Regions from separate parts of the Homo sapiens genome. Here regions 1, 2, 3, 5, 6 and 7 are each linked to region 4. The links are contacts of gene promoters, found by promoter capture Hi-C in human tissues and cell types (Jung and others, 2019). All regions are on one chromosome and are shown on one strand. The core of a region is centred on a gene start or on the middle of the fragment in contact, and the rest is flanking DNA. Distances in the headings are between cores, read along the strand shown.

Region 1 (3,626 bases), core at 638-3,137, 830 kb after region 4:
AATTTGTCAAGTCTTCGGCCATTAATTATTCCATTCTATATCATTTTTTTCAGTCTGTTTCTATCTGTTGTTCAGATTGGGTGAATTCTAATTTTCTGTACTCAATTTCACATATTTTATCTCTTTCATTTGCACTCTACTATTGAATCCATCCAGCAATTTTTTTTTCTGTTATCGTATTTATCAGTTTTATAATTTGATCCTGTTCTTTTTTATGAATCTATTTCCTTGCTGAAATTATCTGTATTACATTTGCCTGTAATAGACTGTCATAGAATGTTTGACAGCTGTTTTAAAAACCCTTGTCAGGTAGTTCCCACACCTGATTCTGTTGATGTTGGCATTCCTCAAACCCATAATCTCAGCGTTACTGAGGGTTGTTCAGAATAATATTTACTGCTAAAAATAGCACCTAAAGTCAGTAAACAGAAGACGATTGCATGCTTAGCTGAGAGATAGTATAAAACTAGAGGTTATATGTTGAAAAATTGTCTTCTTAAAATTGAAAGTGGTTTTAAAAAGTCAAAACCTGATGGATAAACTGAATAATCTACAGGGAAAAAAAACTCACCTCGACAAGGAATATAAAGAAATACTTTACGATTATTCTGTTGAGTAAAAGAAAAGAATGGGTTATAGTCAGAGGTTGACAGAGAGTGTGGCCTTAAATGAATTGTGGTGATAAATTTTCAGTGAATTTCCTAGTGAGTCACCAGATACGGAATAATTGCTGCATATATGAGGCAGAGGATTGAATAGTAAATAAAATCCATGTAGGATTTAACAGCTTGCAAGGGAGGGTATGGAACAGGCTGACACTCACAACTATTTCTAAAGGAAAATGGAAAGAAAATTCACAAGAAATTGGAAAATGGAGGTGGAGCTCACAGCTTTTTTTGTTACACCTTTTCAGTGGGAAGCGTGGTCTGGCAAGCATGATATAAAACATCATGTATAACTGGTCATCAAAACTTTGGGAAACATAATCTACAAACAGGAAAGAGAATCAGCCTTAAGTCCAGAGAGAACAACAGAATAAGAAAGAGGCAGGATGTGTCCAGTCTAAGGCAGCAGAGCCCTGATCCTACAGCACCTCTGGCTGCCAGAATGTGGTACAAGCTGACTCTGGATTGGACCTTGCACGTGCTACTGTACCAGACCACCTTTGCAGTTCCCTTTAGTTTCCTCCCATCTGAATTTCCTCAGTGGCAACGTTAATAATTTTATCTTGAAAGTTAGTCCAAAACAGCATGTGCCCAGTTTGTCCTAAGTGAGGAATAAGCATTTTGAGGGATGTTCTCCTTATTCCAGCACATTTTCCCAAGTTTCCTCAATGTTCTCCCTTTAGTTTTAACAGACATTTTCTGACCGGATTTATGCTAAACAAGGACAATAAACACCAACAATAACTTTTCCAGCTTCCCAACATTTCACAGCAGAGCTGCAGTAAAGGCAGAGGACATGGAGAGAAGCCCCATATGGCCAAGTCCTGCAGGAGCAGCAGCTCCTCCTGCCCATATGTTCTGGAGCCCACCCATCCAGGGGCAAAGCTGCATGCAGACTCCTTCCCCATCCGATTTTTCAGCGGGGACTGGCTCTGACCTTCAGACAGACACGTCCAAACACCTGCCGATTGCCCTCTGGGTGGCCACCAGATACCTACAGCTCCGCACTGAAAAGTTCCAAAATGGAAACATCATCTCCCCCAAACCCGCCCCCTCTGTTCTGTGTTTTCTTAGATTCTGTATGTATATTTGCCATCCATTCCTCACAAGGCCCAACTCTCAGCCAAAGTGTCCACTTCTCTCCTTTTAAGTCCAATGCCTTGTATTCACTTCTCACATGCAGATCTGCTGATTCAAGTCTGAGCCCCCACCTTCTTCCCTAACTCGCACAGCAAGCCAACATTGCCCCTACCCTAAATCATCCCAGGGCCAAGTACCAGGCAACCAGAGACCACCCTACGCTGTGTACCCATCCCTGCCTTTACTTCTCCACAGAAGCCTCAATACAGGCTCTGGCTGGGCCCTTCCTTCTGTCTCCTAGCCTCCCTGAGCTTTCTGCATGGCCCTGCGTGATGTGGTGTGCCCCCTCCTCCTGGGAAATAGAAGCAATAAATTTTCTTTCAGTGGCACTGACCTCTATGTGTAGTCACTCAGTCATTTCCAGAAACTAAAATCCTTTGGCCACAAAGGAGATGCTCTCCTTTTGCCATCACAGAATGAGATTGAGGATAGGGCATATCTGAATTCGGGGATGTAGTCTCAGCCTTAACTCTCACTACTTTGTGGTGGTGTTTAAGGATGTCTACCACTCAGCTTATCAAGAAAGCAGTGATATGTGAGGAGGCGCACTAGACTAGGTGCAAAATATATAGGAAGTGTCGCTCCCCCAGGCAGATGTGTCAGAGCACACGAGCCTCCCTCTACTGCATGCTGTACCCTCCTTCCTCCCTCTAGACACCAGTGAGGGTAAAAATCACCTGGCCTGCAAAATTCTTTGACAACTGGCACTTGTCGAGTATGTGCTGTGAACTACACACAGAGGTGAGTGGAATCGATGTGTGTGTGTTTGTGGTGGTGCATATACTTCCTGTGACTCTCTGGAGGGTCAGTGTTTACAGATGCGCTCACCCCTGCAGGGCCAGGTCAGGGTCTGTGCTATCTCTGCTGTTTTCACAACTCCGTTCTGGCTCCCCAGGAAAACCACAATAAAAATCGGTCTTGGTTGGGTGCAGTGACTCACACCTGTAATCCCAGCAGTTTGTGAGGCCAAGGCAGGCAGATCACTTGAGGTCAGGAGTTCAAGACCAGCCTGCCAACATGGTGAAACCCTATCTCTAATAAAAATACAAAAATTAGTCGAGTGTGGTGGCACGAACCTGTAATACCAGCTACTCAGGAGGCTGAGGCAGGAGAATCGCTTGAACCTGGGAGGCGTAGATTGCAGTGAGCTGAGATCGCGCCACTGCCCTCCAGCCTGAGTGACAAGAGTGGGATTCTGTCACACACACACACACACACACACACACACACACACACACACACACCAGTCTTAGCGGAGGATTCTCTGTCCAAGAGAAAGGACAGAAAAGCAATGTGTTCACACTTGGCCTGTGGAGAAACCTCTTATTCACACCAGGACCTACGTTACCTCAGTGAGTATCTAGACACTTTAAAAGCTGGAAATGTTGGGGCTTGCCAAAGTTCCTTTTCTATGTAAGTTTTTGTTTTGCTTTTTTCCTGGTTAGGTCAAGGTCAAGGTGATTTACTGTTAGCATCTGTGGCTTTCTGGAATCCCACCCTTCCCAATCACACATCATTTTAAAGAAATGGTTCCCGAAAGGTCTGAACCACATTGTTAACCCACATACCCAGTGAAAAACAAAACAATTCTAAGAAGATTTAAATTAAACCAGTAACCCATCCTCTTCTTATCTTTTTCTTGTAAATATTGCTTGATTCTTCCTGAATTCCCGAAGTGGAGTTTATTACAAAGAGCATTCATTTAGACGAGAAGTACTTGTATACAATTTTGTATGGTTTCCGTGGAAAAAGTGAATAGAACTGTGTTGCAGTATTGTGGTTTTAAGGCCTAAATTGACAATCAGCCTTTGTGAATTTGCA
Region 2 (3,787 bases), core at 654-3,153, 940 kb after region 4:
CTTCTGAAGAATTTAAAATTTTTTTTTTCAAATTTTATATTTTTTATTTCAATAGGTTTTTGGGGAACAGGTGGTGTTTGATCACATGAATAAGTTCTTTAGTGGTGATTTCTGAGATTTTGTTGCACCCATCACCTAAGCAGTGCACACTGTACCCAATGTGTAGTTTTTATCCATCACCACCCCCGACCCTTACTCCCAGATTTTGGGGAAATGCAAAAATTTGTTACTAGATGTTTTCCTTTCAGAAACAAAAAGTGAAGACAACTCCTTGGTTTGAAATTTCCTTCCGAAAGGATATAACTGGGCAGCTTAAAATGAAGCAACCTTCATCTTTTGATGCATGGAAAGATGTGACCCAGCTCATTACTCATGGATATGAAATCTAATTGAAAGAGGCATACTGTCTGCTGGAATCACTTGGCAGCTGTTAATGGCTTGATTCAGGCAGCTCATCCTCTGGGAAGCATGTCTCCTTGCCAGGAAACCTGAGCTCACTTCCTTTTCCCTGCCAGTCACCCACCCACAGCCATCGCTGTCACAGGCCCCTTCCTTCCCACTCTAGCTGCCCACCTGCTCCTTTCCCAGCTCCTCTCTCATCAAAGCTATCTTTGTTCGTCTGTCTCAGCACTGGGCATCCCCTTTAATGGCATCACTCTCTGTCCAAACCAGATAACATGTGTCCTTATTTCTCATGTCATTTCCGGGCCCTTGGCAGGCCAACTTTCCCTGACTCACACGTGCTGGCCCCTCCTTCCCATCGCCTGAGCTTTCCTTTCCCTCCCTCTCTCCTGACCCTACATTTCCCCCTCTTGTCCTGCACTGCCCTGCCCTCCCATCCGTCCCTTCACTCCCTTCCCTCATGAAAGGCTCCACTTCTTTTGTAATTCTGTTAATTATCCAATGTCTTGCCTCTCTCCCCATTCTCTTACCTTTCCGTAAACCCACCTCTGACCCATTTCCACTGGCCACAACTGCTCTTTGCTTCCTCTTCTTGATTCCATTTCAACTTTCCACTTTTCCTTCTATCTGAAGTTGACAAATGGGTTCATAGTGCTCTGAATTTTAACACAGCCTTGTCCTTTGATCACCCTGGCTAAGCCTCAAACCCCCAGGCGGAGGTGCTACCACCATCTCCATTCTGCAGTGAAGGCTTCTGCACTTTCTAGAGTTTGTGAACTCCAGTGGTGGAGGCAGCGGGCCCAGCACCCTGCGGAGGAGCTGAGATCCTATCTGCCCCCTGCCTGCTCTGAAGTCTTTCTTCACAGCCGGCCTCTTGATGGGAGGGTTAGGTGGCAGGGATCTCATTCTCCAGCCCCACCGCTATTAGATCTCCGCCAGCAAATACAATTTCTCATTCACCCCATTCCTCCCTCCTCCACCTCACCCTCCCTCTATGTCTTCCTTTTCTTCCCTTCATTTCTCGACAAGAGAAAAAATGCATAAAATATGCCTTTCTTCTTATTGTTTTCCTCAAGCTGCATGTTTGGGGTCTCAAAATCATGTTGTGTGGTGGGGAACTGTTCTATGCATTATAAGATGTTTAGCACTATCCCTGGTTTCTTCCATTAGAAGCCAGTAGCCGCCTCCTTGTGCACCTCCCCAACTGTGGCAGCCACAAATGTCTCCGCATTGCCACGTGCTCCCATGATGTGAGAACCACTGTCCTAAAGCAGCACGTGAGTTGTGAGTGGTCCCATTCTTCAGCAGGAATTAGATAACAGGTTCCTGAGGATTCTTTGTGGAGCAATTCCAGGAGGAAGTAAGTCAGCAAAGAAGCATGGGAAAAGCCTGGCTGAATACGAGCCATGGGTCTGGCCCAGCCTGCCATTACTGCCTAACGGGCACACCTGGATGTGATGTTTGCTGCCCAACCTCTGGCTCCTCCTCTGTAAGATGCTCATTGTTTTCATCCCACTAGTCCTCTTTTTGCTGAGAACAGTGCCCAGAGTGTGCTTTCACAGGGACCCAGGGAAGGGAGCATGTTGAGCGGGGAGGGAATTAAAGCCAATGAGGACTGCGGATGGGGACAGCCAACACCAATGAGAGAGCTACAGAGCTGGACGATGCAGGACTAGATGGAAGCCGAGGAGAGGCTAGAGGGAGGCCCTCTGAGAATGGCGGGGTGAGCATATTTATGCTTAAAGGGGAGGAGGCCGGTGAGAGTTAAGAGGAGGAGGGTGGTTCAGACAGATGGGCCAGGAAGGACTGGAAAAGCATAGCTCTCAGGACCGCCTGGGTGGGGAAAGGATGTCCTTCATTTCTGGGATTTAGGAGGGAAGGGAAGAAGAAAGGAGAAAGAAATGTGTGAGTACAAGAGGTGTAGGAATTTGAGGGAATTGGTCACTGACAAACCTCGGTTTTTTTATATGAGCCGAGAAGCCCAGCCCCCTTCCATGTGTTAAGGGGAGAAGGTGAGTTTTGGGGGCTTGAAGTGCACTTTGGATCCGCCCCTGAGAAAGATGAGAGAGACCAAAGAACAGGAAGGTTTTATACCAAGGGTCAGAAAGGGGCTCTGGCTGGTTCTGGTCCAGGTCTCCAAAGCTGTTAATCCTTTCCCCGCAGGGGCCCGACTCAGACGGCCCCATGCAGTTTATGTCTCAAATGTAGTTTCCTACTACAGAAAAGATGGTATGGAAACACCAAGTCACTCTGTGTTCTTTCAGCTCTGCAGAACTGAAATAGAAAGACAGTTCAGTACCAGAGGCACAGTCTGTGGGCTTTGTTTTTGTTTTAGTAATTTTGTTTTTTAAAACCATTGGAATTACTAAATGTTGGTTGATGTTGGGACTATTTGAACTGAAGGGTTTAGGATGGAAAGATGAGATTTTCCTGCACATATCTGGTTCTACTTTTTAAAAATTTAATCAAATGTAGACAGTTATAGTGAAGACAGGTAGAAGGAGCTAGACCCCTCTAAACAGAGACCCTGCCATTTTTGCTCATAGCTCAACATATGTCTTTGCAAACTGAGTGGCACTTCCCTGACCCCCAGGTGCACCATAGGAACAATTATCACAGTGAAAATTAGTGGGATTGCATCTAAACCCTGTGAGTGACATGCAATATAGTATAATACATGTGTACATGCACACCCTGGGGGTGTAGTCGCCAGACACACAGAGCCACCCACACAGTCACATGTGCATGGCCAGTCCCCCTCCCACAACAGATCTGTCTCCCAACACCCACACACCACATGGTCCCCCAACGCCGACATAAGTGATGGCATCACACTCACGTGTAGTCACATCCACATCCAATATGTATACATGTGTTCACTCCCATATATGTGCATAGGTCCCACCCTCTGTAGGGCAAGGACATGCTCACCATCACCATCTCTCAGGCACAAACTCTAAATTCTGCACCCCACTCCATCTCACACTGTTTCTCTGTTTCTCTCTCCCATTGTCTATTCTTCTAGTATTTTCTTGTGTGTTCTCGGGCACTGCTTCTAGACACACATAGGGGCACTGCCCATCCTCCCATGTCCACATACATACTTCCACACAAGCCCTCATGGGGAGGTTCTCGCATACTTCATACACATGCCTCAGGCCTGCACACCATTCTCTCTCAGCCTAGTCCACAGCTATCCCTCACACACACACACACACACACACACACACACACACCACACACTTCCTGACACCACACACCTCCCAACATGCAGCCCATGCCTATTCCCTGGACACCCCTCATATGTAGACCCACCACTTCACACACACAGAGCCCCCTTTTCCACAAGCCTCCCTAATAAGCCTTGAACATGTCACCTCTCACA
Region 3 (3,777 bases), core at 1,248-3,747, 890 kb after region 4:
TTTTAAATACAGACTTTTACAAACTCGATACCCAACAGAGGCCCTGGAGACTTTTCCTGCTGAAATGGGAGAGTTCTCTGACCCCCTCGCGGGACATGTGACAGGGGTGTGGTTTGTCTGTTCATCCACTGCCATGGACTTAAACCCCTTACCGGAAGGGGAGCACACAGACCACCAGGTGCAGGAACCTGGTGAGCGCTTTTGGGTTCTGTCCCCACAGTAGCATCTAGGAGTGAGGCCTGTAACTCCCGAAGCCACAGTGGGCATGTTACAGTACCCTCTTAGCTCTGCTGTCCGCAGACAGCTTAAGCGTGAACCAGCTCTGTGTCCTCTTGGTACCCAGATCCTTGTCAGGCGTTCAGGAAGAATCAGGTAACATACAGGCTTGAAGGTTGGTGACTGCAGGGGTTTTACTGAGTGGTGGAGGTGGCGCTCAGTGGGATGGATAGGGAGCTGAAGAGAAGATGGAGTAGGAAGATGATCATGTCCTGAAGTTCGACTGTCCTGTGGTCAACCTCCTCTCCAACCATCTCCAGCCAAACTCCTGTCGATATTCATACGCTCCTTCTTTTCTCTCCTTCTCTGTTGTGCCATTCTGTGGCTCTGTCACTCTACTGCTCCTCTGCTTTTCTGCTTGTGGAGCCTGGGGTTTAGGATTTATATGGTTACAGGATGGGGGAGTGTGGTGGGCCAAAAGGCAAAAATTGGGCATGAAAACAGAAACGCCTCTTCCCATACAGGGCAGCGGGTTTCCAGGCTTAAGGGTGGGGCCTTTGCCAGGGAACTGCCTTCGTCTACCCAGTATCTCCCTGCCTCCTGTTCATATCACTGCCTTTTTGGAAGGTTCAGAACTGATCAGATAAGAGACAGCCCTTCATTCATCATATAAGTGTACAGCCACAGAAAACCAAGAACATGTGCTAAATTTCCCAAGAACATGTAATCCTCCTTTCCTCTAGCAATTGGCTAGAGGAAGAGTAAGACACAGAGTGAGAGTTAGAGTGTGAGACTCCATGTGGCCCTGAAATCAAGGTTGCCAGGAAGGAAGCTGCCTAGTGCCTCCTCTCATCGTGCTGTTTGGCCACGGTGACCTCAGGTACAATGTCCCCTCTGTTCAGACAAGTCAGGTTTACTGGGCTGTGGGCTCAAAAGGGCTTCTCACCCTAGAGATGGCCAAACATCCCTATTAAGCGTGGCCAGTAAGAGGCTCTCCCTCCCCATGCCCACCTTGCTCTTTTATCTGTCTGAGGAGAGAGGAGGTTGAGGGTACCCCTCCCACTGCTCTTCACCCTCACTTCTTGCTTCAAGACAGCTGGGAAGAATGCTAAGTTAATAAAAATGTCTATTCAAAAAACCCACTGAAAGGGTGTGAGCAATTAAGCCTATTCATGACAGTGTGAGGCCAACAGACAAGCCAGTTGGCCTTGAGCTCAGGCTTGCTAATAATAGCATCATCCAGCGCATCTCAGAGCTGTGGGGGACTGCAGGATGACATCACCCAGATGGAAGCCGGAGGGATGGGCAAACCACAAGGTCCCAAGGGCTGATGATCACTGCAAGGAGCTGGAGAAAATCCATGTGTATGAGGGGCTGAGCAGCCCTGTGTACCATTCAGTTTTTTCCTCTATTATGGAGAGGTGGTGATATTGTGGGAAGGTCTGGAATCGGGGCTGCATTCGATTTCACCCTAATTAAAAGTCATGAGGCAACTGTTAACTGCAGCTTACTCACAGTAAAAGATCTACAGAACAATTACTGGTGTGGTACCTTGGAAACCCCCCTCCAATGAGATCCACATTCAGGCACCAAGAGGGGAGCAGCGGAGGCATTCTAGGAAAAGCAGATCTGTCTGGTCGGGTTGCACCTTCTGTGGAGGAGTGGGCATAATGGGTACTCTTAGAGAGTTTTCAGTGTTTTCAGGTTCCCAAAATTGGCTGCTGGTAACAAGCAGTGAGCATCTCTCTATAACCTGTCCTCACACAGGCACACAGCACATGCGCCTTTGTAAGGACGGGAGAGGGAGGTGTCACTTCTGAGAAACATCTGTTGGTCTGCTCACATAATACAAGCCTTTGTGAAGTTAATTAGGGAATCATGAGAGTATTGACACTACATTAGGTCAGAAAAAAAAATCAGATACTAGGAAATCGCTTAAATCTCTTCTTAAGCTGAAAATATCGTTAAGAAATGTTTCCGCTTAGACCAAGTCAGAGATAACCCTCCAACACTCCTCACTCCCTGCCAGAAACTGACTTCACTTTTATAACATAGACAGGCTGATGATGAATGCCTCTCGTATTCAGCTTTGACCAAGCTTAGAGCAAAATAATTTAAATTGTTAAAGTTTGAAAGCATTTATTTTGTTTTGGATTCAAAAGCAAAATTTGTTGTCTTATATGTGAAGAACAACTCTGAGTGTGGCACATCAGCCCACAACAAATGCTAATTACTTTTATAATTGTTACTACTACTACTAAGGCTACTACCCTGGGCACGGAAACAGACAATAATGTTACCTATATATTATATAATATAGATATATATATGACTGTTAAGAATATTTTTTTAAAAGATAAAGGAAGACTTTTAGTTAGGCTGGGTCTGTCTAGGACTCACACACACACACAGTTTCAGAAGAGGAAGCCTTTCCATTCTTTCCAGCAGCCTATTCTCATGATCCTGTAAAAGACAAGGGAATGGGAGGGTCAGGATCACTCAGATTCAATAATCAGCATATGTTCAAAGAGAAACATTTCTGATGAAAGCAGAAGCTTCAAGGAACATTCTGGAACTGAATGGGTCCTTAGCTTCCAGGGCTGTGATGCAGATGGTCTCGGTGATCCTGGAGGCCCTGGACTTATGGTCCCCTTGCAGACCATGCAGAGGAAGATAGCACATCCAAAGCTTATGAACCAGTTTTCCTTGTTGACACTGGCTCTGAGGCTTGATCTGGGCTCGACAGAAGCTCAGGCAAGACATCCAGAGAGATAGTCGTTGTTCAAGAAACCAGCAGAGCCCAGGAAGAGTAAACGTAAAAGCAACTTGATAGAAACAAGAGGAAAACCATACAATAGCTAAACAAAACCTAGAACATAACTACAGTTAGTTTTTAAGTTGGAAGTTGAGAACCCCAGGAAAAAGTCTTGCATAAAAGAAAGGAAAAGGTAAAACCAGCATTCTGAGGGTGGTGGAGAAGCTTCCTCAGTTTTTCTCGGAAACTTGAGCAAAGCACTGATAGTAAGTGCATAAGCGTAAACCCTTAACTGTTGTGTGCCGTTTTCTTCTCTTAGCTTCCCACCAGCCTGGCTACCAAGACATCCTATTATAACTTGAAAATTGAGATATGTTTAAAATTAAATAATATTTGTTAGAACTCTGATGTTTCCCTTGGTGTCCTGATTTTTCCCCTGGTAAGACTAGCATGGGATTTAATAATCCTCAGGAAGAAATGTCAACAAAACCATTTTCCACCACGCCTCAACTAATGAACACACTTTCTGACTACCCACGAATGAACTGGAGTATTCCAAACATGGAATAATTTTAAAGTGATCATTTCTTAATCTAATTAAAAGTTTGATTTATTAGTTTTTGTTAGTTTTTTTTTCCTGATTTTTACTCCTGAACACAGGATCTTAATTATGCTTAAATTAGGCTCCCATTTAATATGGTCTGTCTTTCCTGAGCATAAACTAAGGCATGTCAGACAAGGGAGTTCCCAAAGCCTGCAAGCATGATGTTTGATTAGTATAACGTTACTTGTATCAAATAGATCCC
Region 4 (3,867 bases), core at 493-2,992:
TCACCCGGGCGTGGAACTCTACAGCTACATAAATTATAAAGGGACTGTTCATCCTGCTAGCCCTAGATGGGGGCCTGCCCAGTGACATCTGTCCAACGTGATCGTTGGGGAGTTGGGGGAATTAGGATGGGGAGAATTCTCCCAGCCTTCAGCTGTGCAAGGCAGGAACTTTATTTCTCATATAACTAGGTGAGGCTGGCTAAGAATGCTTGAAAGAACAGCTGCCAAATCCATTTAAACAACCCCCGCTCCTTTTTTTAAGGGAACAATGTGATGCCCTTACCAGAGTCGCTGTCTGCCTGATACTGATAGTGGCTAAGCCAAGAGGGTAACTCTGCCAAATGTTTGCATTTTTCCTCTTCTGGGGCTCCCCTTAACAACATCTCATTCCCCCCCCCATTTCAGATTAAGAAGGGAGACAGCCCTAGGACTGATTCCAATTCCCTTCCGTGTCATTGAAATTGACTTAGTCCACATTGCCCGCACCCACCACGCACCTGGAAGTTTGTTTGAGGTCGGCGCAGGTGCAGGGGTGGCCCGAGTTGTAAGAATGGTATGGTACTGAAAGTGGCACGCGGAGTTCAAACCTACACTCTGTTGTGGCCGCTGGGTAACCTTAAGAAGTTACTTCTTTTTCAGCTTCAGGTTTTCCAACCGCAGAAGATATCAAAACCCGAATCCACTTTACTTGTTTTTGGACATACCGGGACTAGACATTGCTTTGCAAACCAAAAGGCTGTGCAAAGTCAGTATTTTAAAAGAGAGGTACTATTTCCTACAACGTGCCTGCCCACCTTCCTTGGTCCAAATCCGCCTATATCCCCCCCATCCCCAAGCATCCCTGGGATTGCAGTCCGTGTGCACCCCCGTGCGGGGCGAGGAGAATCTCCTGTGTCCAGGATCTTTCCAACAGCTAAACATCGGTACCGCTCCCCTCAGCTCCGGAAACCTTTAACCCATTTTCACTGAAAGCGCTTTGCAATTTACAAGTACTCTGCACTTAGAGAATCGAGCAAGTAGAGGGCCGGCTGGGGAGGGTCCCTCCGGCGACCGCCTTCACCTTTCCCGGAGCGCCTTCAGTTTCCCCACATATTATCTCCAGTGAGAAGAAAAGCGGAGTCTCCCGCAGCGGCACCCAGCAACCCCCAGGCCCTTCGGCGCCAGTGCGCCGGGTGCTGCACGCAGCGCACCTGGCGCGGGCGGCTCACCTGGAGCTGGCGGCGCTGGCAGCAGGTAGGCGCGCAGGCGGCTGACGGCACTAGCGTTGACGCAGAGCCCGCGGCCGTCCAGCAGCGCCTGCAGCGGTCGCGCCTCGTCGGGCGACGGCTGGCAGCGAAGGCCGGAGCCACAGCGCTCGGTGTAGATGCCGCACGGCTGGCCCTCGCTCAGTGCGCACGTCAGGCAGCAGCCGCAGCCCGGCTCGCGCACCAGCTCCGCGCACACGGCGGGCGGAGGCGCGCACTGGGCCAGTGCACGCGCGTCGCACGGCTCGCAGCGCACCACGGGACCCAAGCCCGCCGAGCTCGCGCCAGCCCGCGCCACCGGCGGCCCGCGGAGCAGCACCAGCAGAGTCAGCGCAGCGGCCCAGAGCGTGGGTCGCGCCCGCTGCATGACGCCTGCAACCGGGGCACGCTGCTTGGCAGGCTGGGCGCGCAGGGATGGGGCGACAGTACACGGCGCGAAGCTGTGGAATCCAGGCAGGAAGCGGCTGATCCTCAGCGCCCAGCCGCAGTGCTCGCATCTGGGCGGCCCGGGCGCGCCGGCCGCTATATAGAAGCCGGGGTGGCCCAGGACACGCCCCGGAACGGCGCGCCCAGGAGTGGGGGTTGGGAGGGGGGCGGGTCGGCGCAGGCACGGCTGCGGGGGCCCGTGCTTCGCCCTGAGCAGCCGGGGCCGAGCTCGGGGGCGTGCAGCTCGAGACTCGCCCGGGCACCTGCTCCTCGTGCGCACGCCCGGAGCCCGGGTCACCTTGTCGTCTACAAGAACCAAGGTGTGCCCGGCCACCCCGGCACTCCAGGCCACCTCAGCACCCCCGGTCACCCCAGTCACTCCTGGCCAACTCAGCACCCCCGATCTCCTTGACCCCGCCGCCCTTACCCCTTCCGCTCTCGGGGTGAGGTCTCCCTGCGGCGAGCCGGTGTCGGGGAAACTGGCATACAGCGCTCCGCATTCGTGTGTACCTCGTGGAGCTTTCTAAAATTTAATTCCGTTGGCAGGCGAAGTCTTGGGACATTTCTGACTTACATTTGGGTCTCAGGGAGCCAAGGCACTGCGGGGTTTAATTTACACCCGCTGGGCTGTTTATATCCCCAGGGGCCCACAAATACGCATCTGAAGATGCGCCCGGGGCCTTCGCCCCTTTCCAGGCTTACTTCTCAACGCAAGAAGACTCTCACGTGTTGCTACACCGCAAGTCTCCAATTAAGAGTGGACCGGCAAGCGAATGCGTCCTTAAGGCAGGGCTTTTCAAATATTTTAAATGACAACTGTTCTTCTTGTCTTGGGTATTCTCCCTGATTATGTTTTCAAATGGAGTTTACACCCATGACAAAAGAATAATAAAGACAATAAACTGGGCACTGCTGAAACGTAATTAACCAAATAGTCCTTTAATAGGCAATTTTCATTGTCATTTTTTGAAGGCGACTTCGTATTACTGTATTCTCGATGCGTTGGGATTCTAGCTTATCTCTGCAATCTAAACACTTTTCAGTAAAGTTCGGGGGCGCAATTGCGCGCTGAGGTCGCTGTAACTCCTGTCGGCCTTCTCTGGCACTCGAGTTTCTTCAGTTTTGTCTGCGCACCCCCTCCCTTCGGTGACCAACAGAGGACGCTGGTGGTCCAGGATTGGATTGAGGATTAAATTTTTCAAGGCACTTTTCCAAAGAGTTTGTGGGGGTGGAGTGGGAAGCGGTGAGACCTCCGCGGGAGGAGACTTTCCTGAACGCTGTTGAAATTGGACGCTTGCCTTAGGAGGTGGATAGGTGACTTGAAGGAGCCCTTTGCAGTTTGGAGTAGTAATAGCAAATCAGGAGCTCCTCCATTCCCCTCCAGCACGAAGCCTTGGGTGAAGTTAATCTTCATTCATCATTTCTGTCTCTCCTAATCGATCTCTCGCCCAGTGTCTCTCCTTGTCCCTCTCCCTCCCTTTCTCTCTCTCGTCCTCTCCCCTTTTCCCCCTGTCCACCTCTTCCCCCATATCTATACAGCTTCCTTTTATACATATATACTCTCCTTTTAGAATGGAAAGATCAATTTCGTTCCCTCTTGTACTAAATAAATAAATAATTGGACCTCTACAAATAAAAAGAGACCAAAGACAAGAACAATGGAGTGCCCCGGGGTGACGAAGGCCCAGCACCGTCATTTTCTTATGAGCTCTTCTCCCACAGTGCTCAGGCTGTGGCTACACTCAACCTTGTTTACAGGAAACCGTGCCATAATCGTCGCTTGCTGTTTCCTTTCTCTTGTATCACCTCCTTCTAGTATCTGCGTTGACACCCAAGAACAGGATCTCTGATTTCATTGGAAAATTGAAGGAAACAAAACGAATCCCCCAGGTTTACATCCGTTCCTTAAATACTCGCAGAGACCTTGACTCTGAAATTAGAGCTGGGTTCGGCATCAAATGCAATTCTTGAGGTCCCAGGTCTGCAGTTCTGGTTAGTGCAATGTTGCAGCAGAGCCTGGACTGACCACTGGTTAGTGTAGCACTTTTTATTCAGCTTTATCATCTGGAGAGTGGACAGGGGAAGATCAGAAACAATGTCTTTTTGGAAAGGATTAAAAAATTTGTTTTATTCTTGGTTCTCTTCTTTTTTCCCTCGCATTGCAGTTGGAGAAACTTGTTCAGTGCCGAATGGCTAG
Region 5 (4,115 bases), core at 1,523-4,022, 980 kb after region 4:
TCTTGCTTTCTCTGATATTTTCATTTTTTAAAATCCAGACTGCTTATTAACCTGGCTTTCTTATTTTAAATGGTGGAGAGTAGAATCTCCATCTCAAACATGTTTGTATCACCCCAGGGGCTGTTAGGTGTCAACAGATATTTGTTTAATTGAATTGAAACAGAAAAAAAGAAACTTGAAAAAGAAAACATAGATGCAAATCACTAGGTAAACACTAAAATCTGGGTATGGTGTACCTTAATGTGAATACTTTTGAAATTTTAGTGACAAAGTTGCAATAATTTGCAGAATATTATTTTTCGCTTTTTGTCAAAGAGGACTGTCAAGGCCGGGCGCGGCAGCTCATGACTGTAATCCCAGCACTTTGGGAGGCCGAGGCCGGCAGATCACGAGGTCAGCAGATCGAGACCATTCTGGCTAACACGGTGAAACCCTGTCTCTACTAAAAGTACAACAAATAAAAAAAATTAGCCGGGCATGGTGGTGGGCACCTGTAGTCCCAGCTACTTGGGAGGCTGAGGCAGGAGAATGGCTTGAACCCAGGAGGCGGAGCTTGCAGTGAGCCGAGGTCGCGCCACTGCAACCCAGCCTGGGCGACGAAGTGAGACTCCATTTAAAAAAAAAAAAAAAAAAAAAAAAAAAAAAAAAAAAGAGGACTGTCAAATTGAATTGACCTTTCAAGGTAATTTTTTCAAACTTTCAAACTTAGGAGAGAAAGAGAACACAAAACAAAAATGAAAACGTTTCCTAACTCCTTCTCTTGAGATGTTTATCACCACCTTCTGTTCATCTACAAAGCTGGTGCAGATGGAATACTCTCCCTCCCTGGGGTTTCAGATCACAGGAAGAAGACATTATTATCATCCTCCTTATCACAAAAGAAAACTCTCGTTAGGATGATCTATGATAGAAACGTCCAGGGAAGATGCTGCTCTCGGTGCCCTGGTGCTTCCTGTTCCTTGACCCGATTCTTCCCAGTTCAATGGGAAAATGAACAAGAGAATCTAGAGAGAGCCAAGACTAATACTCCATTCTCTTAACCTGTATTCATGTCTATCTTAATATTTTTTCTATCTTGCTTAGTTAAAAAGAGAGAGAGACAGAGAGAGCACTCACCCCTAGCCCAGAGTCATATGTGGGGTGCTTTGTCTGAGAGTTTGAGGAAAGGCCAATGCCACCAGCTCCCTGTCTTTTGGAATGGGATCTCTGGGGTGCATTAGCACTTCAGGCGAGACCCAGGCTTCCTGAGCTGCTCTCTTTACCATGGGCCCAGCTCTGGCTGAAAGCCTTCTGAGAGCTTGTTAGACTGCAGGAAGGCGAGAATCCTTCAGCAAGCCAGTGAGATCACTGCTGCACCCACCTGGGTCTAGGCTGGAGGTCTCTACATGAGGGCTGTCATGGAAAGGCTCGATCCCAAGACACTGAGGTCACCCTGGTAAGCAGATGTGGAGAAGGGAGCCAGGCCCGGGAGGAGGAAGACTGACTTAATGGAAATGTTTAAGTTTTTCTTTGTAAGAAAAATAAAAAGCCAATCCACAAATTTACATTACATTATAATGGCCTATAAACTGGGCAGAATATATAATTATAATGAGGAATTTCAGAAAACAATGCTGCTTCTGAATATTTTAATAATATAAAATAATAATTTGGGGTTATGTTTTTGTTTTTGTTTTGTTTTGTTTTCTGGCCAGACACAGTATCTCACACCTGTATTTTCAGCATTTTGGGAGGCTGAGGCAAGAGGAACCCTTGAGGACAGAAATTTGATACTAGTCTGGGCAACACAGGGAGATCCTATCTCTATAAAATAAAATAAATACTTAAAAAATATATTTTTTTAAATTAGCAGAAAACTAAGGAACTCAATGGGCTTTCATGTCAGGGATCAGCTAAATGATTTTTATAATTTACAGAATTATGAGATGCACTTTTAAGTAATGCAAAATGATTATAAATTATATTTCTTCTGATGTGTTTACTCCTACTTTTACATTTTAGGTTAATAATCTACCTTAGCTATTTTGGAAATAGATAGGGAATAAATATTAACCTAGTAAAACAAGATAAATTATGTATTTAATTAACTTTCCACATTCTATTAATAACCTTTAAAAGTTTATATATCACATACACTGGATTTGAATGCTAAATAATAATTGTTTAGACTATTTAAGTCTAAAATTCAAAATCTTGGGGTGAGAGGGGGCTTAAAATTTGTAAAGTGAAAAACTGATATTTGAGGATTGAATTACCATGTGGTAGTCCAGGTTATTCTTGAACATCTCCACTGACAGGAAATGGTGTCTCTAATAATAGCTTATTGCATCTTTAGACTGTTTAACTGTGCTGAAATCCTTCCTTACATTGGCTGTTTCCAAGCAAGTTCCCACTAATTAATTGATAGGTCTTTATTTTGTTGATGTATATACTGACTCAGTTTATGTTTCCCGTGACAGGCTGCAGGATGCCTGGAAAAGTTTTCATCTATTATGTTGAGTCTTATGAAATTACCAATTTTTAGGTCAAAATGGCTGAATATCATCAATTTCATATGCTTCAACCCATGACTCCCTGGGCCTTCTCTTCTGCAGGTAAGACTCCCCAAGTCCTTCGACTCTTCCTCCATGGCAGGCCTTCACCATCCTTTTCAGGCTGGAGGCCACTCTGTGGAATCTTGGACAATTATTTACTGTGAAAAGATCCATTACATGGATATGAATACTAAACTAACTTCTGTGGCCTACACATTTGGAAAAAATCCAGAGGAAAAATTGGAAAAATATGAGAAGTGTAAGATGCTTAACAACAAGTTATACTGCTGTTTATTGAGGACTTATAATAATCTTTTAGATGTGATACCCCCTTTTTACAGCTAAGAAAACAAATTCCCCAGTAGGCTAAGTAGCTTGCTCCAGATAACATAACTATAAACTCTAGCATCCAGATTTGACTCGGATATTCTGGCCCCACATTCTATGCATGCCCTTTCCCCTAATAATGACTCCACGAGGCCAGATGTGGGTTGAACACTGGAAAATGTCAAGCTGCAAGAAGATTACCCTGACTAACTCCCCCAGTTCTCCCAGGTATGTGTGCATTGGCTTCAACTTCCCTCAGTTAACAATTCCATACAAGCCCTTCCAATTTGACGCAGGAAGACAAAACTTAGAAAAACTTTAGAAAGATCCATCATTTATTGTCTCAGTGCCAACACTTATTGGACTCACCTACCCTTTGATATCTAAAAGTAATTAATATTTTATTCAAGTCACAATGTAAGTGCGAGGGTCCAAAAGACTGAAAAGGTGGGACCTTGTGGGCCTGTTGTCTTCAAGTCAAAGGTAATAAAATGGATATTTTTGTTTAAATTATGTTGCAAAATCTTTATGTCACTTTCACTACCTGCAACAGCGTTCTCATTTCTAACTCCTCCGAATTCCCTGTTTTTATTCTCCAGGACTGTATGTGCTTTCATCTCCATCTCTTTCCTCCTCCCCCCAAAGATGCCCACATCCCACTCTGTAGAATGTATGAATTACCACAGTGCATGGCAAGATGGGCTTTGCAGATGTGAGTTAAGTTATGGCCCTTAAAATTGAGAGACTATCCTGGATTTTCTGGGTATGCCTAACCTAATCCATGAGCCCTCACAAAGAACTGTCTCCAGCTATCTGGGAAAAGAAGAGATGGCAGAATTACGGCAGAAGGAAAAAATAATTGAAATGTGAGGACTTCACCATCATTGCTGGCTTTGAACCTGGAGGAGGAAGGCCACAAACCAAAGAACACAGGTGGCACCTGGATGCTAAAGATCACCTCCAGCTGACAGCTAGCAAGGAAACAGAGACGCAATCCTACAACCACAAGGAACTGACTTCTGCTAACCTGCAGGAACTTGGAGGCAGAATCATCCCGAGACCCCAGAAAGAAACAGTGTCCTTCTGACACCTGGATTTTAGCCTGGAAGCCCAGATGAGCCATGCTCCTCCCAGACTTCTGATTTACAGGACAGTGAGTTGCATGTTGTTTTAAGCAGCTCCGTTTGCAAATATTTGTTATGGCAGCAAAAGGAAACAAATACAGTCTTTGATATATTTGCTAAGCCTCTATTT
Region 6 (3,819 bases), core at 613-3,112, 850 kb after region 4:
AAGGTACAACTCAAATGTATCCTGATTCCACGATCTTTTTTTTCATCTAAATGTCCCAAAGCTGTGGCTGGAAGAAAGTTGAGTCTGTTAAGCTTGATCCTAGGGGGACAGTGGCAGCAGCATGTTGCTAAGAGACAGAAATTTCCAGACTCAAAGGAAAGGGGCAGACAAGACCATTACTTGACTAGAAGAAGATAGTAACCATTTAAAGGATTCAAACTGCCAAAGAAATCCAAGTCTTGGCTTGTGTACTTCTAAGGTGAGCACCCTCACAGCATCTCCTCAGCTCAATTTGCAGCAATAAGATTTACATTATTAAAGTAGAATCGGGAAGGACGTCCGGTACCTTAGCTGCAATTCAGTGGGTGAGGTGAGCCTTCCCAGGGCAGATTCGAGCTGCATGGTCCTCAGGGCAGTGGAGATTCTTAGAATGAACAGTACCAGGAGGCTGGATTTGCTGAACAAGGTGTCCACTCTGTACCTAGGCAGGGGAACTGGCAACAACTGGTCGTCAGAGTGTGTTTTTCATATTGCTTCATGTAAGAGTGACTTTTTGCTACTGCGATCTCCCCTTTCAATACCACTACATGTTGGGTTTTGCAGGGTGAGTTTTGTGGTGATAGGAGGAACATGACAGAGCAGAAGCTGCATGAGCCAGATATTCTGGACTTGGTTTTGAATGCAGTATTGGATGAGGCTTTGGGTTTCTCTGTTTGGCAGAGAACTCAGTATGTTTTTTGTGGAGATGGGCATTTTACATGTGAAATGAAGAGAAGGAGCATGAATCTGTGAACGATGGGTCTCCCAATATGAGTTGTGGGCTGTTGTATGAATTAGGGTTGTCCTTACACTGAGCATGCCGTGAAGTCTAGGCCTTCATGCTAGGGAGTTCTGCCTCCTCGAACAGTCCCAGCCATGCAACTCTATGCAGACTGCCTCTATGAGGCCTGTGCATGGCAAGCTGGAGCCACTCTGCGTGGATGTCCCCCTGAGGTGGGGGTTATGCAGGAAAGAACATATTGATAAGATCTGGCAATAAGGGACAGCTTCTGAACACTCTGGGAAATATTTTCTGACTCTGAACAGAAAAATAAAAAACAGCTTCTCTGAAAGTGGCATTACACAGATGTGGGCTCTAATGCTGCCATCGTTATTTTCTCCCAGCCTAAGAACAGAGTCAGCAAAGAGAATCCCAACCAGAGGCACTCCTGAAGCAGAAGGGCAGCTGTGAGACTCTGCTCCTGACCTTGGGGTGCTGGCTTGTGGGAAACCATAAAGCTCATCACCCTTAGACCACTTTGATTTGGATTTCCTGTTCCTTGCAGCTGAAATTTCCTAAAAGTTCAAACTCACAAGCCTCCAGTTATTTAATATGGTGTTTACCCAGCAAGGTTTTGGCTCTCTGAAGATCATTTTGTTCATGTATTTATATTCTTCACATTGTCAAACAATATAGTAAAGACAATAAATGGCAATTGTATTTGATTACTAGATCAAATGGGTAATGTTCATTAAACAGTATAAATACATTGATAAAACAATACAACTTAGTGAAACAATATTAATAAATATTAATATTATGATGAACTCATGTGTCTATCACAGCAGGGGTCATTCATTTGTTTTTCTGTCCATGATCATCCCTCTCCTAACACTAAGGTTTAACCCAGAAACTGCTCAATGATCACATGGGTTTGGATGGATGAGCCGCACTGACATGAGAATGCTATGGATTTCACAATAGATGTGTACCCAGGTACTGCTATGATTTCAAATTATAGTGAGGCTCAGACAGGTTCCACAGATGCTTCCACATCAGACAAACCACAGAAGGTGGAATTAAAATACAAGTCATGTGATCTCAGAGCAGACCCTGCAGCTGAGTGGAAGCCATCCTGATGTCCTCATATCAACACAGACCAACTGAGGCTCTCAGAAGGGCTTGGAATAATGTCCCTTTCTTTTAAAGCTAGTTTCACTGCCCTCTTATGACTTGCTCTTGAATAAAACGTGACTACAACACTAGAGAAAAGCCTCTGAAACCTTTATAGGAAGAAAGTTTAGAAAGTACAAGTGAGGAGACTGATACGAGTAACAATAAAACTCTGGTCTTGTGCACAACCAGCTCTGTGTGAATTATTATTTCTCTATTGCAATTTTCCTGTTTCTATAAATTGGCTCTGTCTAAGCAGCAGACAAGGTGAACCCACTGGGTGGTTACAAATTTGGGGAGCTCATCCAAGATTGCCCTTGTGGCTGCCTGCCCGTGCTTTGGTAGCTTCCCTCCAGTAGTGGATTCAGAGGCCAGCCCAAGAGGCTGCTTAGTTTTCTTGGACTGGGGGCTGACTCTGGTACTGTATCTACTGATGGGGTGCTGCTCACCCTGTGCATGGATTTAATTCCAATAGAGAAATTGTTCTGGGGAGATGTCCCATAATTGTAGCCCTATCCCAGGGTGTCTGTCTGTAGCCCAGTCATGAAATGTCTGTAGCTGTAGCCCTATCATGGGATGTCTGTTTCAGTGAGTATCGTAGGCATTGCCAATGCCTCCTTCCTTCTCCTGATTGATTCTGTAGCACCATGGTGGAGTGTCTGTCTGTAGCCTCATTGCAGAGTGTCTGTCTTGGTTCAGCTCCTTCAGGGGTCTCAGTTGGCCCTCCCTAATTAGTAGGAAGAGTCTTGGTTCAGAAGACTTCTCCTCAATCAGGAAGATTTTGGGGAGATTTCTTAGGAGGACAATAGGAGGAGAGTTTGGAAGGGATACTCTGGGAATTCTTGGTTAGGGATCTTAATATGGAAAGCCTTCTGTATCAGTCCGTTTTCACACTGCTGTAAAGAACTGCCCAAAACTGGATAATTTATAAAGGAAAGAGGTTTAATTGACTCACAATTCTGCGGGGCTGGGGAGGTCTCAGGAAACTTATAATCATGGCAGGAGGGGAAACAAACATGTCTTTCTTCACATGGCAGCTGGAAGAAGAAGTGCTGAGCAAAGCAGGGAAAGCCCCTTATAAAACCATCAGATTTCATGAGAACTCTCTCACTATCAAAAGAGCATGCTGTAATTACCCCCATGATTCAATTATGTCCCACTGGGTCCCTCCCACAACATGTGGGGATTATGGGAACTATAATTCTAGGTGAGATTTGGGTGGGGACACCACTAACCAATATCACCTTCTGTCCATCTTGTCTTTGTGTGTGTGTTTCTATATGTGGAAGGGATCTCTGAAGGAATTTGTCAGGCCTCTGGGCCCAAGCTAAGCCATCATATCATCTGTGACCTGCACGTATACATACAGATGGCCTGAAGCAACTGAAGAACCACAAAAGAAGCGAAAATAGCCAGTTCCTGCCTTAACTGATGACATTCCACCATTGTGATAATTTGTTCCTGCCCCACCCTAACTGATCAATTGACCTCGTGACATTCCTTCTCCTGGACAATGAATCTCAGGAGCTCCCCACCGAGCACCTTGTGACCCCTGCCCCTGCCCACAAGAGAACAACCCACTTTAACTGTAATTTTCCACTACTTACCCAAATCCTATAAAACTGTCCCACCCCTATCTCCCTTTGCCGACTCCTTTTTTGGACTCAGCCTGCCTGCACCCAGGTGATTAAAAATCTTCATTGCTCACACAAAGTCTGTTTGGTGGTCTCTTCACATGGACTTGCATAACAGAATCATTGATGGAAGTCCAGGAGGCCTAACTCAGAGAACCTTCCTTATTTATAAGGTCACATTCAGTGATCCCTGAAAGAAGTTTCCCAGGCTTGATTCAGGATGACCACTCTTTATCTTGCCCAGAGACCACC
Region 7 (3,841 bases), core at 674-3,173, 1.0 Mb after region 4:
ACCTGTTGCTTTCTTGGGTCACGGGTGCTAGAATATATTTACTGCTCTTAAGTCCGGGTCGCAAACACCGCAATAAGTCCTACTCACAAAGCACTTTCTCCTCCAAGACATAGCAGATCTTGTTAACTCGTGACACAGCTAAAAAGGACAGTACTAAGAGGAAGCATTTGTGGTGTTCTGGGCCTGAGGGAGACAGAGATTGTCACGGCTAACATTTAAGCCCTCCTCTTTTGCCTCCAGGACTGTTGTTCCATCAACTAATGGGACTCCTTGACCCTGCATGTCTCCCAAAGCATCCTTTATACAGAGGTGTTGTCACCTTCTTGTTGTATTGATTTTATATAATCATTTTAAATTTTCTGTAGTTTCAAATGCTTCTCAACAAGTATGCCATATCTATGCAGTAGTAAATGTGTAAGATTTCTAATATATAAATATAGATAAAATCAGAGAGCTAAAAATTTATTGATGGAGAGCCTGAGTTTTAAAAAAATGAAGACCAACCACAGACCCACATCTCTACCTCTCTCTGTTGCATAAAATTCTCAGCAGTCTCACCAGCCCCTTATGCTGCTCCACACAATGAGGACGACCTGAGCTGAGAGAAGAGCAGGCAGAGATGTCTCCCTGTGTACATGGGAGAACGTGTGCGAACCTAGAGAATGATGGCTGAGCAAATCCCTGGCAAGTCTCCTATTACTTGTCCCTGGGGACAGACCCCTGGATTAACATCTAAAATAAAACAGTATTCTGAGCCTTTGCTCTGCTGGTTTTTATTTGGCTTCATATGGGCCATTTAACCTCTCTGAGCTTCTGTTTTTCCCTTCAAGCACCGGAGCAAGAATGCCTGCCTCACATCATAAGGGTGCGTCTGAACAAGTAACGGATAGAAAAACTGAGGCTTCATACCAGCAATTAATGTTATTACCCTGGAATTCCACATTTATAAGTAGTAACAACATAACTTATTTCATGTTGTTTTTTAATCAAGAGTACTTCTGATGGAAGATTTTATTAGAATGTAGAATCATTGGATAAAAAATGATTTTTCACTTATAAAACAGTCTACCCAAGACAGGACTCCTGTCTACAGAATTCCTGGAAGATGATCACCCAACTTTTCTTGATTATGACTAGTAACTAGGAGCTCACAACTTTGAAAGAAAAGGGATTTCTTTTCTTTTCTTTGTGAAATGATACCATATTAAGTAAAAATATCCCCTCTGGTATGCTTTCTTTTTGAGTCTGCATCCTTGGGAAGCTCAAAATATTTCACTCACCTCTAATCACAATCATGATAAGTCTTCATAAAGCCATCTGTGTGCACACCACTGAATTTCCTTTTCATGGGTAAACAGGCCCAGATCTCTCAGGATATTATAGTAGGATACAATTTTCAGACACCTTATGTCTTAGTTTGTTCAAGCTGCTATTTAAAAATACCATAGACTGGCTTATAAACAAGAGAAATTCATTTCTTATAGTTCTCGAGGTTGGAAATCCAAGGCCAGCAGTTTCAGTGTCTGATGAAAGCCTGTTCCTCATAGACGGCACATTCTTCATGTCTTCATATTGCGGACGGAGAGCCATAGAGCTCTCTGGAGTTTCTTTGATAAGGGCACGAATCTCATTCATGAGGGCTCTGCCTGAAGGCCCTTCCACTCAACACCATCACTTTCAGGATTTCAATGTTTGCATTTTGGGGGGACATTGAGACCACAGCATCTCACATGCATCGTCCTCTTGAGGCATCTTATGCATCTATCTGCTTTTCTATTATTTATAAGTGGTGCCTAGAACCAAGTGTAATATGATCTACATGTACTATAACTTGTTTGCTTCTATTTTAATGATGCTGTGTTACACTAATAATGAACCGTGTAGCTAACAGAACACAGTCATACCTAATGTCTCACAAAACACTGAAGAATCCCTTTTTATAGATGTGGAAACAAAACAAAGACCCTTAGAAGTTAAGAGGTTTGTTCACTATCTCACAGATAATCCAGGATTAGTACACAGGTATACCAGCTGTCATTGACTACATTGCTCAGTTAAGGGTAGATTAAATTGACAGGTCACCAATAGCTTGGGTCCACCAACTCTCTCAGCCTTTTTTCCACATTGAATGATGCCAAAAAAGTGTTGTTCTTTATGAAATTGTCTATTTATTTTTAACATTAATACAGTTATATAAAATTTAGAAATATGGAAGGTTTAGTGTAAGAAGCCTTACAGATTATGTTAAACATATAACACATTTATGAATAAGCAACTGGCAAACTAATCAAACATCACATAGTTAATCTATGGGCAAAAATGATATAATTGAGGTCTTCAAAGACATATGAATTGTCTTCATGCCATAGCATTAGCAGACAGGTAGGTAGCCTTTACATTCTTTTTAGAGGGGTTCCTCATCACTGACAATCCTATCAAAAAATCTAGATTTATCTTATTGCATCCCACTTAATAAAACCATTAAACTCAACTTGTCTTTGTATAATCACTGTAAATCCACTTGTGGCGAGAGGATGGACGCTTAGACTGATGGGACATGGGACAAGAAATGAGCACGTCCGTTTATGTAAAAGCCAATGTTTCCATTAACACATGCTTGGTGCAGTCACAAGTGGCAGCTGCTACTGTGGATTTCAGTTGCTATTTCTCTGAGGACCCCATAGAAGACTGTAAAGAGTGCCTGAGGACTGAAAAATGTGCCCACTCTTTTAGCCCTGGGAACAAACTACTCAATATGGCTATTTGGAAACACAGTGTGGCAATTCAGGAATAAGAATCACTAAAATTGATTGTTCTCTTTGGCCTCATTTAACTGATCACAACTCCACATAAGTCAAGAGCTTTTTGCATAATAATTTTCATTACCATATTATGTAACACTGAAAAATTGTTAGTTCTTTCATAAATTATCTGATTTTAAAAAGTAGCACACATTATCAAACAAGAAATTTTGAGAAGTGGTCATGGCTGGTGTCCAGTACAACCTCTTCCACTTTGAAAGTGCTCACTGTTACTGTTTGTGTCTGTTACTTGGTACCTCACAAAATGAGATGGCACAATCTTTTATTACAGTGAGACATTTATAAAATTATTTATGCATTTTTTTCAAAATGTACCTTAATAAATACCAAAATGTTGCTAAATTGTAGTTTATGTTTTTGTCCTTAATGCAATCAAGTAGAAATGAAAATAACTACAAAACATCACCATCAAAAATAAAAACATGGAACTGATTAAAGAAAACTATTAAAAATTCTTGGAATCCAAAAGGACCTCAACTCTGAAATTAAGATTATTTTATAATAAAAACAAGGAAAAAGCTTTATATTAAAACCCATTGGATGTTTCCAATCTTTAACCTTTAAAAAATTTTATGTTAAATAAAAACATTGAGAATAAATAAACTAAGCATTTTTTTTCTGGTAATAAAAAAGCGTTCAATTTAAAAAGTGAGATTGAAAAATAAAATGGAAAAAAACAGAATAAAACAAAATTTAAAAAACAAAAAAGTGAGATTGAAATAGTTAAGAAATAGCAACAAGAAATTGAAACTTATTAAGATAAAGAATCTACAGATAAAATAAAATTTTATTTTTATAAGACAAAAAATTTAAAACAAAGAATCTGAAAAATAAAATTAAATATATGTATATCTGCAATCATGAAAAAGAAAATTTATGAGAAACTCAGGAGAAAATAAACAATTGAAAGAAATATCCCAAGCAATTTTATATCAAAAGCTGGAAACCTACATAACAGTCGAAGATACCTTTTGAAAATATAAATATACAAAATTGAGTAACAAAATAGGATATGATTG

The links. Contacts are between HindIII fragments. The study calls those that stand out against the background at their distance.
Region 1: a contact is called between a fragment that was not itself captured here and the fragment with the promoter of IGFBP3 in region 4, in 1 of the 25 tissues and cell types used here (mesenchymal stem cells).
Region 2: a fragment that was not itself captured here is called in contact with the fragment with the promoter of IGFBP3 in region 4 in 1 of the 25 tissues and cell types used here (dorsolateral prefrontal cortex).
Region 3: a contact is called between a fragment that was not itself captured here and the fragment with the promoter of IGFBP3 in region 4, in 1 of the 25 tissues and cell types used here (IMR-90 fibroblasts).
Region 5: a fragment that was not itself captured here is called in contact with the fragment with the promoter of IGFBP3 in region 4 in 1 of the 25 tissues and cell types used here (mesenchymal stem cells).
Region 6: a fragment that was not itself captured here is called in contact with the fragment with the promoter of IGFBP3 in region 4 in 1 of the 25 tissues and cell types used here (lymphoblastoid cells).
Region 7: a fragment that was not itself captured here is called in contact with the fragment with the promoter of IGFBP3 in region 4 in 1 of the 25 tissues and cell types used here (dorsolateral prefrontal cortex).

What each region holds. Positions count from the first base shown.
Region 1 is chr7:46,744,813-46,748,438 of GRCh38, forward strand. No RefSeq gene overlaps it. Among named protein-coding and RNA genes, the nearest start is that of SNORD151, 720 kb to the right of the region's middle. The HindIII fragment of the contact is 4,039 bases long and covers 1-3,626 here.
Region 2 is chr7:46,859,624-46,863,410 of GRCh38, forward strand. No RefSeq gene overlaps it. Among named protein-coding and RNA genes, the nearest start is that of SNORD151, 600 kb to the right of the region's middle. The HindIII fragment of the contact is 4,673 bases long and covers 1-3,787 here.
Region 3 is chr7:46,810,249-46,814,025 of GRCh38, forward strand. No RefSeq gene overlaps it. Among named protein-coding and RNA genes, the nearest start is that of SNORD151, 650 kb to the right of the region's middle. The HindIII fragment of the contact is 3,306 bases long and covers 845-3,777 here.
Region 4 is chr7:45,919,530-45,923,396 of GRCh38, forward strand. It overlaps IGFBP3 (insulin like growth factor binding protein 3), which reads right to left and starts at 1,743. Exons shown (of 5, transcript NM_000598.5): 1 at 1,209-1,743. The coding sequence starts at 1,611. RefSeq lists enhancers at 1,546-2,126, 2,127-2,707. The HindIII fragment of the contact is 8,943 bases long and covers 1-3,867 here.
Region 5 is chr7:46,896,177-46,900,291 of GRCh38, forward strand. All of the region lies in intron 1 of LOC124901626 (a long non-coding RNA gene), which reads right to left. Among named protein-coding and RNA genes, the nearest start is that of SNORD151, 570 kb to the right of the region's middle. The HindIII fragment of the contact is 6,970 bases long and covers 1-4,115 here.
Region 6 is chr7:46,765,994-46,769,812 of GRCh38, forward strand. No RefSeq gene overlaps it. Among named protein-coding and RNA genes, the nearest start is that of SNORD151, 700 kb to the right of the region's middle. The HindIII fragment of the contact is 5,034 bases long and covers 1-3,819 here.
Region 7 is chr7:46,917,977-46,921,817 of GRCh38, forward strand. The region is part of intron 1 of LOC124901626 (a long non-coding RNA gene); the gene reads right to left. Among named protein-coding and RNA genes, the nearest start is that of SNORD151, 540 kb to the right of the region's middle. The HindIII fragment of the contact is 3,578 bases long and covers 135-3,712 here.